Regions from separate parts of the Homo sapiens genome. Here region 1 is linked to region 2. Evidence: promoter capture Hi-C in human tissues and cell types (Jung and others, 2019). All regions are on one chromosome and are shown on one strand. Each heading gives the region's core, a stretch centred on a gene start or on the middle of the fragment in contact. The rest is flanking DNA. Distances are from core to core; before and after follow the strand shown.

Evidence for each region. The method cuts DNA at HindIII sites, captures the fragments that hold promoters and counts their contacts. A contact is called where the count stands out against the background at its distance.
Region 1: a contact is called between the fragment with the promoter of ZNF264 here and the fragment with the promoter of ZNF418 in region 2, in 1 of the 25 tissues and cell types used here (adrenal gland).

What each region holds. Positions count from the first base shown.
Region 1 is chr19:57,189,945-57,192,816 of GRCh38, reverse strand. It overlaps ZNF264 (zinc finger protein 264), which reads right to left and starts at 1,317. Exons shown (of 4, transcript NM_003417.5): 1 at 871-1,317. The coding sequence starts at 903. RefSeq lists a silencer at 802-1,071 and enhancers at 1,242-1,301, 1,312-1,401, 1,422-1,481. The HindIII fragment of the contact is 13,408 bases long and covers 1-2,872 here.
Region 2 is chr19:57,933,649-57,936,701 of GRCh38, reverse strand. ZNF418 (zinc finger protein 418) reads left to right here and starts at 1,300. Exons shown (of 6, transcript NM_133460.3): 1 at 1,300-1,541; 2 at 2,800-2,885. The coding sequence starts at 2,880. RefSeq lists enhancers at 1,333-1,422, 1,015-1,897. The HindIII fragment of the contact is 9,006 bases long and covers 1-3,053 here.

The DNA of each region.
Region 1 (2,872 bases), core at 68-2,567, 740 kb after region 2:
GAGACTGCAGTGAGCTGAGAGTGCACCACTGTACTCCAGCCTGGGCGACAGAGTGAGACCCTGTCTCAAAACAAAAAAAAGTATGTGAACACGGGCACAAAAAGCTCAGCATTCCTCACTGACCCCACAGAGCGGCACTGGAAGGGCTGCATCTACTTGGGGAACGACAGGCTCCAGACCAGCTTCCCATGCCCTCTGGGATCTCCCTGGGTCTCCCAGATCCCCCAAGGAAATTCCACAATGAACCAACCATCGGCCTCTTTCCTTACTGGGTTCCGACAGAACTTGTCTCTGACGCCAGGATACTTTGGGGCCACGGAACACGAGCGGCCAAGGATAATGCAGGCTGTAGCGATGAGAGTAAGGGCATCTGACTGGCCACAATGTCTGCAGTAGTTGCGGATGGCTAGAACATCCAGGAAAAGACCACACACTGTTGCCCTCCACGTCTCAGCGGCCGCAGGAAAACCATGGCAACCTTACACACCCTCCTGAGCCTCCTTAAACATACAACATACCTTGTCTCTGCTCGCGCATTTGTCGGCTTGCTACTGCCCTGCCCTCCCCTTCCCCCCTCAGGCCCCCAATTCATGCTGGAATGAGACCTGGTCCACCAGAGAATGCTTGCAGGCCAAGGATGATGGGAGTCCCCAGAGGAAGCATCATTCACTCAACAACCTACGGAGCTCCTTCCAGTAGGCCCAACACTCCTTACGGCCAGGTATAAATTAAGTGGCAAACCAGCTCCACACACCAAAGCGAACGACGACTGCGAAGACAAATCCAGGGGATACCTGGGCTCCCACCCACTTCGGAAACCGCCTCAGCGCTGGCAAGGAAGCGGCAACCGCGAAGCCACCGTCCACTCACCTGGGCCCGGTCCGTCAGCACCGCTGCCGCCATCACGTCACCCCCTGGGCCGCAGAGCTGGGACAGAGGAGCCCCGGGCGGCCTGACGGACCCCACCTGTGCCCGACCCTGGCCGGTTGCCCGGGGCTTCCAGGCGCGCTCGGGGCCGCCGCCTCCTCGGTGGCAACGGCGTTCCAGACGCAGGGCCGCCGCCTCCTCGGTGGCAACCGCGTTCCAGACCCAGGGCGCCGCCCCTGGAGACCGCGGGGCTGAAGGGCGGGGGAGGAGAGACCGCAGCTTGACGGCGACCCAGGAACAAACCCACGGAAGGGGTCAGGCTCGTACAAAGGTGCGGCGGGGATTCCTATCCTACTCCCCTGCTCGGTCCTGACTAGGGACCTGCAAAGCGGCCCCGACCGGGGCCCTCAGTGGCTACAGACCTCTCCAGACAGAAGTGCAGAAGAAAATGGCGTCCGCAGCGAGCAACCCGGAAGTCCCGCCCCCACCGGCGTGAGCCGTCGGAAACGTCCCCGTCCTAGGCCGTCGTTGGCCCAGCTCCCGCCGTACGCATAATGCACAGCCTTCTAAGTAGTGTAGTTTTCCTCATGTGTTCAACAACGGGAGGAACGCTTCACGGCGCAAGTTTTCCTCCCAGGGAAAGGCACTCCAGGACCCGAGGAGACGCTCCAGACCCACCTCTTTACGGTGGGCACAACTCGAGGGGAAGGATGGAGGGAGGGAACCGAGGGGCAAGGGTTACATTGCATTCTTCTCTCGGGAAAATCGGAGCTCGGGAGACAGGGACTTTCCTTCAGGTCAGGGCACAGGCAAAGGCGCAGAACTGGGTCCTCAGCTCGCCTGGCGACTGACCCCCTTTCACATCCCTCCTCCCCGGATCATCATCTTGGAAGACACAAAAAAGCCGAATGATCATCTGGAAGCCCTGCCCCGACACGTTGTGTGCGCAAACTGCCCTCTTTTGAGCCTTCTTTGGACCAGCACAGCCTCTACGTGATGCAGGGAGTCATGTATTTGGCCCAGACCACACAAAAAGTGGATTTGCCCACTTCTGAGGTGGGGAGGCTGCAAGTGGAGGAGGTTCGGAGGCTCAGGATGGTTAGTTTGAAATGTCTACAGAACCACAAAGTATCTCTGTCACAGGCAATTCGACTTACGACTGAATGTTGGAAGAAGGTTTGAGCATGAATATATGAATTTAGGAGTTACCTTACACTGTTATTTCAAGTCATGATATTGAGTGAGACCATCAAGGCAATGCATGTAGATGGAGAAGAAAATACACAGAGCATGAGCCGGGGACCAAGTCTACATCATTAAATGGTTGATGACAATATTACCAGAAAGGCCAGGTCCTTGCATCTAGATCCTGCTGCTTGCTGCACAGAAGGCCAGTCAGCAAGACAATGAGTATTGTCAGGGATGAAGGCTTTATTCGGTGCTGCAGCTGAGGAAAATGGGAGATCAATCTCAAATCTCTTTCCTCAACTGACTAAAACTAGGGGTTTATACATCAGGGAAGAAGTGTAACTATGTTTGAGAAAACAGGAATTAGGAAGGGGTAAGGAAGAGGAATGGGTCAACAGGCAGCAGATGGTCAGTTAGGCAATCATCATGGGTAAGGGGTATAGCATCTCGTTTTTCCAGATGTGGTAATCCAGTAAGTTTCAGTTTCTTTATACTATCTGGGAGGCCTGATGCTTGGTTTCCTGAGAAAGGAAATCAGATAAGACAAATAAAAGTGTCTCGAGTTTTAGGAAGGGGAGGCTCAATGTCTATAATGTGTTGATTCAAAAGAAACCATAAATATCAGTTCTATGGGACACTGGAGCTGGTTTCAGTTCCCTGTTTCTATTTATCAATTCCTCAATCATGGGGAATCTGGACGTGATCTTTCTGGCTGCTTTATGCTGAGGAGGGGTATTGTGGGTGGCTGCATACCATAGATGACCACGTGGCCACTCAGATTAACTCAAAGGTTAATCTAACGCTATAGTTTTCTTTC
Region 2 (3,053 bases), core at 51-2,550:
ACGCCTAGTGTCTCCAGGTGGAGATTATCACCACCATTACCAATACCAAGCTGAGATTTCTCTTTCATTGTTCTTTACCTGAGACTGACTTCAAGTTCCTAAAATGAGTTGAAAATATAAGTTAGAATACCAAGTAAGGGATATTACATGAATAAATGTTTTGCTGAATGAATTGGACACAATAATTGACTATATAAGCAGGAGAGTTGTTTTTCCATGGGAACGACTGATTGACCTTTGTACTCTTTCTTTAGCCTCTCCTCTATCTTCCTTGGCATGGTCCTATCTGGATTAGTTCTCTTTTGTCCCTGGCAGACTGAAAAACCAACTCTAATGCCTCAGAGTGAGGCAGGAGAATAGGGAATTAGGGTAACCAAGAATGAAGGCATAAGCAAAAGAACAGCAGGTGCAGCTAGTTCTAGGCAAGATGAGGCAGCACACAGGCCACGTCCTCACTCCTGTGGTAACAAGACAGAAGTCTCCACTTCAGCCTCTGATTGGTTGTGCACCAGTCCTTCATAGGATTGGAGGCCTTTAAAGAACTCTTGGGGTATTATAAAATTCTAGCTTATTCATGGCAAAAACCGCAATTACTTTTGCACCAACCTAATAAAACCCTAAAAAACATTGTAATCGGGGTTCTTGAGCCGCTTGGTCGCCTGCTCCCACACCTACATTCCACTTCTGTGGAGTGTACTTTCCCCTCAATAAATCTGCGCTTTCATTGGTCCGTTCTTTCGTTGCTTTTTTTGTGTGTTTTGTTCACTTCTTTGTTCAATGCGCCAACAACTGGACAACTCACAGCCAAGACATTCTATCCGGTAACAAGAGTGCATTCATGTGAATTATAACAGAGTAATGTTTATCAGCCTCTGCTTCCAGTGCAAGCATTCTGTGTCTAAACGATTGTATAAAGTGATACACGAATTTGGATTTGTAGCCTTTGGGGGCCTTCACAGTATTTTTAGCGCCTGGGAGCTTGAATTTACAGAAATGTGAATTAATATTTTTGCAAACACTTAGGTGGTCAGTTACAAACAGGGATTCCCCAGGAATCTCAATATGGCCTCTAAGGAGGGGCGAGACCATCCTCTGCCCTAAAAGGGTACGCGCTTTAATGAACCCCCTGAGGTAGGGCTGGGACTTCCCTGCAGAAGCGCCTTTGGGAAGCGGCAGCTTTACTACCTTGGAACCTGGGGAACTACATTACCCAGAAAGCTCTACATTGAATGACAGCGCAACAGAACCAGTAAGGGCTCAGAATAAAGGCGTTTCTGTGTGCGCACGTAACGTAGTGGCGGGATTCTCAGCGTTCTCTGGTAGCGACCATTTTGGTTAATGTTGGGTGTGTTTCTGCGGTTTGTGAGGTGAGAGGCGCTGGAGCTATGGGTCCGAACCGCGGTGTCTGAACCCAGAAGGTGAAGAGTCCTTCTTGCTGCACAGAGGCAGATCTTAGGCCCCGTAACGGCGCCCGCCGCTCCCGGCAGTGCTTTCCCCGCGTACTCGGGATGGCGGCGGCCGCGCTGAGGCTCCCGGCTCAGGTAATTGTGCCTTCCCTGCCCTCAGGTCACCTCATCCTAACCCGAATCCTGAAGCAGCGAGAGAGCGGCGACTGTTCACAGGTCTGCAGCCCGGACCCGGCGTCGGGACACTGAGGCGTTCGCGGGAGAGGTCCTTGTTTCTGACACCTGTGGGATGCGGTGGGGAGAGCGACAGGCACAGGGACCGGCGCGGGCTATGGCCTGGAGGACAGACCCGGGAGGATGGAACCTGGGGTCCACAGGCGCCTGTAGGGAACAACGTGTGAGGCGAAGCTTCTCCTGGAAGAGCAGGCTGGGGGCTGTGTATTCGCTGTGAAGACGCTAGAAGCCATGGAGAGTTTCGAAGAAAGGAGGGATGCGATCCAAGTCCAGGCTTTTAAGGTTTCCCAAAGGCCAAAGGAAGAACATAGTAGAGGAGATGAGGACCTTAGGGTTCTGGGAGGTTGACTCCTTTGTTGATAGATCACATAGGTGGTAGAGATGACATTTTGCACTGAGACACGCAGGTCAACCAGTCTGAGGTCACCTGGCTCCAGCGATAAGAAAAGGTTCAAGGAGACCTGAGCTTATCAGATCCCCTTTGTAACGTCTGCTTTCCCCTCAGACACTCCTGGCTACAAAAGCACGTAAAGAACCCACTGAGGGGGTCGGGCAAGGTGGCTCCCACCTGTAATCCCAGCACTTTGGGAGGCCGAGGCGGGCGGATCACCTGAGGTCGGGAGTTCGAGACCAGCCTGACCAACATGGAGAAACCCCGTCTCTAACAAAAATACAAAATTAGCCAGGCGTGGTGATGCCGCATGACTGTAATCCCAGCTACTCAGAGGCTAAGGCAGGAGAATTGCTTGAACTCGGGAGGCAGAGGTTGCGGTGAGCCATTGCACTCCGGCCTGGGCAACAAGAGCGAAACTCTGGCTCAAAAAAAGGAACCCACAGAGGGAATTAGAGGGTGTTCCATTCCCTCACTGGCCTTATTCCCCATTCACATGTTCTCTAGCTTGTGATGTCCTGGGACTCTTACTTGCCATTTTTTCAGTCCTTTGATCTGAGAACACTGGAGAAACCCTAAACCCAGAATCCTAAGTCCATGACACAGGATGTATGGAGGTATTCCCATTTCTGTCAACCCATGTAAACATACTTTGAAGGTTAACTACAGAGTTGGTACCAGGTCATGAAATGCTTAGAGGTAAAAATTCGGTGGGGAGGCAAGAGGGCGGCGAGGAGGTGATGTTACCACAGTCCCATTTGTCTGCAGGCATCATCTGGCTGCAAAGAAGAGAACACACTGTGTTTGAGGGAGGAGGAAGGAGGATCAGAGTTTAAACTCCTGCCATAATGCAGGTGAGGGTTACTGGACCATATTAATGAGTAAGGAGCTGTGGCTGGATTCAAGATTCACAGTTTGTAAAATGGCAACTAGATTTTCCTTTTTTTTTTGAGCGGGAGTCTCGCTCTATCGCCCAGGCTGGAGTGCAGTGGCACGATCTTGGCTCATTGCAAGCTCTGCCT